Regions from separate parts of the Homo sapiens genome. Here all the other regions are linked to region 3. The links are contacts of gene promoters, found by promoter capture Hi-C in blood cells and fetal thymus (Javierre and others, 2016). All regions are on one chromosome and are shown on one strand. The core of a region is centred on a gene start or on the middle of the fragment in contact, and the rest is flanking DNA. Distances in the headings are between cores, read along the strand shown.

The links. Contacts are between HindIII fragments. The CHiCAGO score rates a contact against its expected background, and 5 or more counts as called.
Region 1: a contact is called between a fragment that was not itself captured here and the fragment with the promoter of RAN in region 3, in 1 of 17 cell types (naive CD8 T cells). The highest score is 5.7, in naive CD8 T cells.
Region 2: a contact is called between a fragment that was not itself captured here and the fragment with the promoter of RAN in region 3, in 1 of 17 cell types (total B cells). The highest score is 5.5, in total B cells.

Annotation. Positions count from the first base shown.
Region 1 is chr12:124,919,515-124,922,890 of GRCh38, forward strand. TRA-TGC3-2 (tRNA-Ala (anticodon TGC) 3-2) reads right to left here and starts at 2,312; the gene lies at 2,241-2,312. RefSeq lists enhancers at 1,518-1,707, 1,543-2,221, 1,788-2,107 and a cis regulatory region at 1,763-1,933. The HindIII fragment of the contact is 6,001 bases long and covers 1-3,376 here.
Region 2 is chr12:123,966,928-123,970,387 of GRCh38, forward strand. The region is part of intron 1 of CCDC92 (coiled-coil domain containing 92); the gene reads right to left. Among named protein-coding and RNA genes, the nearest start is that of CCDC92, 4.2 kb to the right of the region's middle. RefSeq lists an enhancer at 1,856-2,357. The HindIII fragment of the contact is 847 bases long and covers 1,459-2,305 here.
Region 3 is chr12:130,870,768-130,874,095 of GRCh38, forward strand. RAN (RAN, member RAS oncogene family) reads left to right here and starts at 1,299. Exons shown (of 7, transcript NM_006325.5): 1 at 1,299-1,359; 2 at 1,817-1,862; 3 at 2,069-2,153; 4 at 2,236-2,361. The coding sequence starts at 1,827. RefSeq lists enhancers at 339-1,100, 524-603, 1,101-1,862, 3,091-3,160 and silencers at 884-1,343, 1,414-1,553, 1,604-1,813. The HindIII fragment of the contact is 6,850 bases long and covers 232-3,328 here.

The DNA of each region.
Region 1 (3,376 bases), core at 429-2,928, 6.0 Mb before region 3:
CTTTTCCTAAAACAAGCCCCCTTCCTGCCTGCGCACTAGACTGCTTTGCAGGACTAACAAATTGGCCACAAGATTACAAATTATGGTTTAGGAGTCACGCAGCTGGAGACTGCAAGATTCTGTCCATGCTGAAATTGCTCCTGAGGATAACATCACTATTGTAAAACCTAAGACCAGTGCTTGAGATATTTTGCATACTCTGCACTCAGTGGGCCGACTGACACCACCCAGATTGATAAACTGGCTCATCTGGTCTTGTGGCCCCCACCTAGGAACTGACTCAGGGCAAAGGGACAGCTTCGACTCCCTGTGATTTCATCTCCGACCCAACCAATCAGTACTCCCGATTTCCCGACCTCCCTACACACCAAATTATCCTTCAAAACTCCAATCCCTGAGTTTTCAGGGAGACTGATTTGAGTAATAGTAAAACTCCCGTCTCCCACACTGCCAGCTGTGTGTGAATTAAACGTTCTCTATTATGGCAGGGCGAGGTGGCTTGCGCCTGTAATCCCAGCACTTCGGGAGGCTGAGGTGGGCGGATCACAGTTTCCCTGTCCTAATAAATGGGCTCTGTCTAGGCAGCGGGCAAGGAGAAACTGTTGGGCAGTTACAGAAGCATGTAAGTTTTGTGTTAGGCCTGATGACTTCAGAAATTATCTTCAATGATTTTCCCCTAAAACCTTGTTGACATTTAGGGAGAAATAACCTTTCCTGAAGCTCATTAGAAACAAGCTGTCACCAATGCGTCACCACCTAACTGGTGAGTCAGTTCGCAAGTTTCATTTTCTTCATCTCAAAAATGAAAGCTCTAGATCTAGGATTAGACGCTTTTACCATTTAAAACATGAAGTCAAGTCAAATGAAAGAAAGGGGCTGACAGGTGAGGAATTCATTATAATTGCAAAGAACTGTACCACAGAATGCAGCCGAATCCCTTCTTTCATTCTTATTATTATTTAGAGAGCTGGGAACTGGTTAAACTTTAAAAAATATAATTTATTTTTATGTATTTATTTTTGCCTAAAGATCATTCATGCAAGTAAATCAATCTCCCCTCCCCTCCCCTTCCCCTTTCCCTCCCCTTCCCCTTCCTTTCCTTTCCTTTCCTTTCCGAGCCAAGGTCTCCCTTTGTTGCCCAGGCTGCTTTCAAACTCCTGGCCTCAAGCAATTCTCCTGCCTCATGCCTCCCAAAGTGCTGGGATTACAGGCCTGAGCCACCATCTTTTGCTTTCAGTGATAAAACACAGAAACACAGTGGAGGTGAAAGCAACTCCATCTTGGTTGCTAATCCACCAAGATAACTTCCGATTAATGCCTCTTCCAGGAAGGTCTCTAAGATTTCTACTTTACTGTTACCATAAATTCTGCCCTTAGATCAGAACAACCTAGATCATAAATCCTTCCCTTATGCGGATTCACATAACATTCTTGCCTTGCTTGAGGGGTCAACTTCAATTGTCCTACATATATTCCTTCCCTATGGTATGGAAGCCCTGGGCCGGGGGTTATGGCGCAGCAAACCTTATATCCTCTGATGACCACCCTGAGACTATGGCTTCTGTTGGTAAGTCCCTAATAAATGTTTTTTCCTGAGAAACTGGGTTTGTCAACCCCTTTCTTTGGCCTCTCAGCTCCCTTGGCCTTTGGGGTAGGTTTGCATAGGCCTGCTCACCCCGGAACACAGTGTATGAATATAAATGTAAATTGCACTTGCATTACAGCCGTGGAGACGTGTTGCTGAGGAAGCAGAGAGCAAAGCCCCGCTGGGATGTGAGTTTGCTTCTGGGTTCCTCCCATGCAAATGAGGTGGTTCGTGGCAGTGCAGAGGAGGAGTGAGATGGCAAACAGGGGGGCCCAGACCTTCCAGCAACTTACACACTTGCCCTCTGATGGCCAAGAATGCGTCAACAGCCCTCGAGGCCAGTGCAGTACAATCATGGTGGCACGAGATGTGGTGTACACTCCCCAAATGATCATCCTGCTCACTTTTGCTGTGGTTTCAGTCATCAAGTCAGGTTTTGCCTTAACACTTTTCTGCTGATTACTCCCATCAGCCTCTTCTAACTCATGTGCATTTGAAACATTAGAGATTTCAGAATGGGAAGATCACACCTGGTGTGAGAATCTGAGCTCCAAGTAGTGCCTGGAATCACAATGCTTATGATAATCACATCCATGGCACTTTAATGATAAAGAACCACGGACCAAAACGAATACAGAAAGCAACAAAACTACAATGGAGATGCCGGGGATCGAACCCGGGGCCTCATACATGCAAAGCATGCGCTCTACCACTGAGCTACATCCCCCTCCCTTTCCTGTACTTGCTTTTGGAAGTCCTTGCTATACTCTATTCTTAAAGGCGTTTTTCCTGTTTCCACGTGTTTCATTTTTATTTTTGGTTTTTATTATTGTTTGGACGCATAACAATTGTGCACATTTATGAGGTGTGGTGTGATGTTGTGATCTATGTACACAATTTGTAATGTTCAAATCAGGGCAATGACCACATCCATCCCTTCAAACATGTATCATTTCTCTGTGCTGGGAGACATTAAAAATCCACGCTTCCAGCTATTTGAAAACGTACAATAAGTTGTTGTATTCACTCTATAGGGACACTGGAACTTATTCCTCCTATTCAGCTGTACTTTTGTATCCAGTAACCCCCCTTTGGCTATCCCACCTCCCCCCACCTTCACTACCTGCAGTAACCACTATTCTCTCTGTGAGACCAACTATTTCAGCTTCCGCACGTGAGTGAGATCATGCAGTATTTATCTTTCTGTGCCCGGTTTATTTCACTTTATGTAATGTCGCCCAAACTTAGCCATGTTTTTATTTTTGTTTCGTAGAGGAAAAATGACAGGATTTCATTTTGTTTTGTATTTTTTTAAGGTCGAATAGTATTCTATTGCGTATGTACACATTTTCTCTATCCATGTATCTGTTGACGGACACATCTAGGCACTTATGAATAAAGCTGCAATACACACGGGAGTGCGAGAGGCTTTTAGTTTTTGGTTGGTTGGTTTGTTTTGAGACAGAGTTTTGCTCTGTCGCCCAGGCTGGAGTGCAGTGGCATGATCTGGGCTCACTGCAACCTCCGCCTCCTGGGTTCAAGCGATTCTCCTGCCTCAGCCTCCCGAGTAGCTGGGACTACAGGCGTGCACCACCACGCCTGCTAATTTCTGTATTTTTAGTAGAGATGGGGGGGGGTTCAGCATGTTGGCCAGGCTGGTCTCGAACTCCTGACCTCAGGTGATCTGCACCCCTTGGCCTCCCAAAGTGCTGGGATTACAGGCGTGAGCCACTGCGCCCAGCCAAGGATATTTTCTAAATTAAACTTTTGTGTGTTTAAGTGAGTGTTAGA
Region 2 (3,460 bases), core at 632-3,131, 6.9 Mb before region 3:
GTCTCAAGTCTAGCTTTGTTTCTACTTGGATATTTATTTTGTCTCTCCCCTAAAAACCTGCCTTTGCCCTCAAACAATATGGTTTGGCTTTGTTCACCTCTGAACTGGGTCCTGATACCACAGTCTTACTGTACTAATAAACTTGTCAAAAACTGACTTGACCGCTTTATTGATGGAAAGCAATTCCTCACTTGAAATCACATTGCAGAGGCTGAGGAGGATTACACATCCTTCCTCCCCCGAGAGCAATAGGGCATGTCAATGAGCAAGTACCTTAATGCCAGAAAGCTGCTGCTCTATTCTACTAGAACGTTCTGGTCTTGTCATAGGGACTCAACCAGAAGATAAAGATGACTCAGTATCAGATACTGACCTTCCTTGAAAATGACAGGCCAAACCTAATAACTTCTGCTATGTTCTTATCTATGGGAACACAAAACTGAGCGAAAAACTCCAACCTTTCTCCATCTTTCTTATCAATGTGCAAGATTTGGCTATTTTTAAAAAGTGTATCTGCTCTCCCACGCTACTAGCCACCGAGGCAGAAACACTAGCAGTGCCTTTCATCTGGGTTGATGTGTGTGACAGCCGAAGAGAAAGGAGTTACAAAAAGCCTCCTTCAATGTTTAAGGTATGGCACGAGCCTAACCTCTTACGTTCACTTATCATTAGAAAAATATGGAGAGCCTAAGATAATTATGCTATGTATGACAGAGATGGAACTTTCTCTTGGGAACCCAGTGTTTTTACGTGTCCTCTGCATTATATCGAAGATGATCTTTTCAGAGTATGATGCCACGGATTTCTAGGTAAAATGTGCAACTTTAAGAAAGACAGTATTGTAATAATATTGAGAATGACAATTTACATGTAGTGTTTAATGCTTAAACAATGTTACCTAAGAACATGGGCTTTAATGACTTCTCATAAACTCTCTTACCTGCATAGTAAATGAGAAGGGCACAGGATGCATTTAGAAATGGACTGGGGAGGAAATCTGAAGAGCAAAGGATAATGGATTTTATGCAGACCTAAATTTAGTATCTTAAGTGTTGCCAAAGAGGCAACAAAAAGAAAATTTGTAGAAGCAGAGTATTATGTGCCTCATATTCCATTTATTAAAAGTTTTCTTCTGTCGTTTTTTTCCCCTTTTTATAAGCAGCTTACTCAGGCTTGCTCTATTTGGTGCTAACCAATGGAAGTTCACTGCTCAGTCTTGAGAATTCAGCTAGAATAAAGAATTTCAGAAACAAGGAGAAAACTTACTCCTTCACAGAAGAGTAGACACTTCTTGCTTCGTAGTAAAGTTCTTTCTGATAAAGCAGTAAATTGGGAATAATCATGAAAGTATTGATCTCGGTCGGCTCTCCAGTGTGGAAATTTGCATGTAAACTGTTTTCTGATTAACAAAGAAGTCTTTAAAGATGTTTGTGTGATCCCTTCAGAAGTCATGGTTAAAGCTTTAAAGTGCAACCTTTAACCTTGAAAATGCTGCTTTCTAACTTGCCTTATTTGCTAATTTGTTGTCCTGGTAATAATATTTAAGTAGTATCTGTGATTTTTTTTCCTGAAAAAATAAACACTTTTAAAGTTTTATTTCTTGGTTGGCCAGAAAAACTTGATATTCGTCTCTTTTCCCTTCATGCATACAGCATAAATAAATGGTATATTCCTTGTTCAAAGTTTGAGGAGTCTTAGTCACTTATCACACCCAAAGTCAGCTAATGGGTAAGAGACACAAAAGCATGACACAAACTCATCTGCTACAGAATGAGAGAGAGTAACTATTTTAAAAGACATTTAAAAAGTGAAAAGCATGAGACAAACTCATCTGCTAGAGAACAAGACAGAGTAACTATTTTAAAAGACGTTTAAAAAGTTAAAAGCATGAAACAAACTCATCTGCTAGAGAACGAGAGAGTAACTACTTTAAAAGACATTTAAAAAGTTAAGTCCATGCAAACATTAATTCAGAATTGTTTTTTCCTCTTCTTCCTAAAATGGAGAGGTCAGATCTTGGTTTAACTCAATCGGCCTCATTACTGACTTGCTGCACTTCAATCCTTGTGTATTGGGCACTCTGGTGTTCACAGGCAACTCTGCTCTGCTTCTTAGCCACAGACTGGAGTCCCCACCTCATTGACCCACTTAATACATGTATTAGATTGACACTCAGTAGCCGAATCTTTATTATAATAGATAAATCCTTATTCCCATTGCTGATAAAACCATCATTCTCAAGATTGGTTTCATACAAATAGGGCACATGTCTTTCTTCTTCAAACACAAAGCTCCAATTCCCCTAAGCTTTTCGGCTTGCTGTAATTCTACTTCTTGGCTTTGTTTTACCTTCAGCTGCCAGCATATTTTAAAAACCATGCAGACATACTGAAAAAACATCCAATGCAACTTAATGTAGGTGGATATGACTGGACTTTTTGCTGTGAAACTTGAGTCATGTTTGAGTAATGAAATAAACAAACTAAAATGCGGAGCAAGCACAAGAATCATCTCTTATATCATCTCTTATTCAGTTTTTTTTTTTTTTTTTTTTTTTTTTGAGACGGAGTCTCCATCTGTTGCCAGGCTGGAGTGCAGTGGCGTGATCTGGGCTCACTGCAACCTCTGCCTCCTGGGTTCAAGCGATTCTCCTGCCTCAGCCTCCCGAGTAGCTGGGACTACTGCGCCACCACGACCAGCTAATTTTTGTATTTTTAGTAGAGATGGGGTTTCACCATGTTGCTCAGGATGGTCTTGATCTCTTGACCTCGTGATCTGCCCGCCTCGGCCTCAGGAGTGAGCCACTGCCCCCGGCCTTATTCAGTATCTTTTAAAACATGTTTTCAGCCAAGTAAAAGAACGATTCACCTTCATAATTTGCTGGCTCTCCAAAGGATGACTGGCACCATCCCATTTTTTAAAAACAGCTTTAAAAAAAGTCTTTTCTGCTTGCCTTCCTAGAAAAGGGTAATTTTCCTCTTGATTCAATGTTTATTGTAGAAAATAAAGTTAAAGAAAGAAATACAAATCATGTATAATTAAAAAGAGTCTTTTAAAACACATTGAATTCGAGAGTGCTTTATTCCCTGTAATGTGCCATACAAATGCAAAGCACGACTAAGAATCATCTTCGATAGCAGGTGGGTCTTTAATCTACTAAAAAATCTTCCTAGGGTTCATGTAGGTGTCTGCGGATGTTGCTACGTCCACAACTCTAGAAGCCAGCATAAGAAAACAAAAAACAAAAGCCACAGTGCTAAAAGGGAAGTACAGAAGTCCTCGAATATAGTTGCCATCGGAATACCCAGGAGTCCCTCTCAGAAAGACCCTCCTATACCTCTGTGATACCTCCTAATAGCCATTCACGCCAAGTGGGGAACCAGCTGATCCCAAAAGCCCCTAGGGAAGGAGCAGCCCCTTCTTTCCACCGCTAGTTCTCACCATAAACAACTTTTGCCTT
Region 3 (3,328 bases), core at 49-2,548:
GACTTGCGTTCCCAGCAGGCCGGTTGTCGCCTGCTTTGTGCCTAATTTGCGTCACTGGGGTTCCTAGCGGACTCGCCTGCAAGTGTGCTCAGGACTGCAGGGAGGACTCTTCGGTCACTGCGGCTCTCTCCCCATGGTGGACTCTTCTGAGGCGCTTGACTGCGCTGATTTGGGCCTTTATCTGTCTGCATGTCGGCAGGGGCGCCCAGGAAGTCGGGTCCCTCTAGCTCAAGCTTGTTTGGGCTCTTACAGCTTCAGGCCAACAGGGGGCTGGGAAGCTGAGCACTTACTCATTCCGTCCCCGTTGGTAACTAGGGCTGGTAGACGCGTCCAGACTGCAAACAGTATTTCATCATTTTGTCTGTAGCATGCAGCGGCCAAAGCTGCCAACCTATGAAACGCTTTGAGAAGCCGGACGCTTTGGGAGGCCGAGGCGGGTGGATCCCCTGAGGCCAGCCTGGGAGACATAGTTAGATTCTGTCTCTCAAAAAAATTTTTAAAAAATTACCCCTGATGTGGTGCGCGCCTGTAGTCCCAGCTACTCGGGAGGCTGAGGCGGGAGGATCGCCCGAGCCTGAGAGTTCGAGACCAGCCTGGGCAACGTAGCGAGACTCCGTCTCTTAAAAAAAATAAGTAGCCGTTTTTCTGGGTGGGTGCATCCCTCTCTGGTTCCTCGCTCTCCAACTGGCCCTGGTCCTGGGGGCGTGAAGGCTACGATCTGGAGAGACAGAACAGCGGGCTGCCTCTGGAGGACGGGCCTAGACCCCATTCATTCATTCATTCGTTCTGTCACCCACCCGTCCTGCGCGCACGCGAGCCACCCTAAGCCCCAGGACCTCAAGAACCCCCACCCCACGGGGCACAGACAAGGACAGGCTGGCCAGCGCCTGGAAGCCGCGTGCCTGACCACGTCTGCCCGAGCGAGTACCGCCTCCCACCCGGGAGGCAGGAGAGCCGCGACCGTCGGGCCGCGCCCAACGTCTCCCGCTCAGGGGCGCGCCGCCTCGCTTTCAGCGCATGCGCGCCCGGGAGCCCGCCCGGGGCGTCGGCGCACGCGGTCCCCACCGGCCGGCTTGCGTACGCGCTCCCGGCTCGCCCTCCCACGCGGTCCACCGCGCCTCCCGCCCCACCCTAAGCGCAGCGACCGCCCGAGCGGCCGACCGAACCGCGTTGCGTGCGTGCGCGCACGCGCGGGCCACGTGGGCGGGCGCCGCGCCGTTGCCCCGCCCCTTGCAACCCCGCCCCGCGCCGGCCCCGCCCCTGCTCTCGCGCCGGCGTCGGCTGCGTCTCCGGCGTTTGAATTGCGCTTCCGCCATCTTTCCAGCCTCAGTCGGACGGGCGCGGAGACGCTTCTGGAAGGTATCGCGACCCGGCGGGCCCGGCACGGCCGGGCGGGGACAGGGGTGGCGGCGGCGGGATAGGGGTCGGAGCCGGGGCCAGGGCCGGGGCGGGTGGCGGACCCAGGGGCAGCGGGCGGCTGAGTAGGTGGGTGGTGCGGGCCCGGCCGGGCCGGGGCAGGAGACGGGCGTGGGGTCGGCGCTAGCCCCCGCGAACCCCCGTTTCATCCTCCGCTCTCATCCCCGTCCCGGTCCCAGTCCCGTTCCCATCCCTACACCTCCGGCCGCCGTTCCCCGGGCCCCGCCGCCCCGGATGCCGGCCCCGCCCGCCGCCTTCCCGCTCCCAGGCCTGGCCGCCATGGCGCCGCGGGCGGGAGGCCTTTGTGGGGCGGGCACGTGGGGCGCTGGGGGCGCGGGAGCGGGGCCGCCATGGGCTGCGGGGCCGCGCGAGCGCTCGCCTCCGTCCTCTGCCTCCGCAGGAACGCCGCGATGGCTGCGCAGGGAGAGCCCCAGGTCCAGTTCAAAGTAGGTAACCCTGCGGGGCGGGAGGCGGCCGAGCCCGACCGCGTGCGACTCGCGGGTCCCTCCTCCTGGGGCCACGATGGCTGTAATGGGGCCCCGCATCCACATTCTTTGTTTTAAGTGAGCCTGTGGTGGTTAAAGTTCCGTGACTCTGGGATCTTGAGAGGTGAAGTGTTTAGGGTTTACTTCCAAAATGTGTTTTTCAACAGCTTGTATTGGTTGGTGATGGTGGTACTGGAAAAACGACCTTCGTGAAACGTCATTTGACTGGTGAATTTGAGAAGAAGTATGTAGGTATGTGCTGGAAAACCTTGCTTGTGGAAATATGTGAGAAATGGGTAAGTTCATCCACTCAATCGCATCGTTTCCGTTTCAGCCACCTTGGGTGTTGAGGTTCATCCCCTAGTGTTCCACACCAACAGAGGACCTATTAAGTTCAATGTATGGGACACAGCCGGCCAGGAGAAATTCGGTGGACTGAGAGATGGCTATTATATCCAAGGTAGGCATTTGTAACTTGCTGAACGGTTTTTGAGAGGTTTTGTGTACTTCAGTCTTCAAGGTTATAGAAAATCAGGTCTGTTCCAACAAATAGTGTCATTTTTGGGTTAAAAAAAGACAAGTGGACTTCGGGGAGTTGACCACCATTTTGGTGGCAGAGAAAATTTTATTAAAGTTGTGTCATTTGCATGCTGTGTCATGCTAGGCATGCTTTAGAAAAAACTATGACTTACACTGGGACTTATAAGTCATATTTAAAACAATAATAGGCTGTTAACAGCAGTTTCAGTATTTGGAAACTTAGGTTCATGTATGTATTTTGGTGTGGTGATCAATGAATGTTTTTACTGTATTAGAAAACAATAAACACCAGATACTAGACCAGAGGAGATAGGAGATCTTAACAAGTGTTATACAAGACTAGCTGATTTCTTGTTAAATTGTTTGTACTAAGTTGTGCAGAGTATTTTTCTCAAATAGTTTGATTTAAAAATTGCAAGGAAAATGTTCATTGTACCAAAAAGAGGAATCAAGAAAATACTCATCTCTCTTGGAACCTCACGTTGCCGATAACACATTATCTGGAATCATTCCATGCCTTTTGCTTTCCTTGAGCATGTACAAATAAACACAAGAATTTCCCCCAAAAGAATCCTTTAACCAAAAAGTTGTGGTTTCTTGCCTTGCTAACTGTACCATAGTTATTCCTGCAGGTGAATATATAGGCTTTATCTGGGTTATTTATTTATTTAATTTTTTTTTGAGACAGGGTTTCGCTCTGTTGCCCAACCTGGAGTGCAGCTTCCGCCTCCTAAGCTCAAGCCATCCTCTTACCTCAGCATCCTGAGTAGCTTGGACTATAGGCACGTGCCACTATGCCTGACTAATTTTTGTATTTTTTTGTAGAGATGGGGATTCACCATGTTGCCCATGCTGGTCTGGAACTCATGAGCTCAGGTGATCCACCC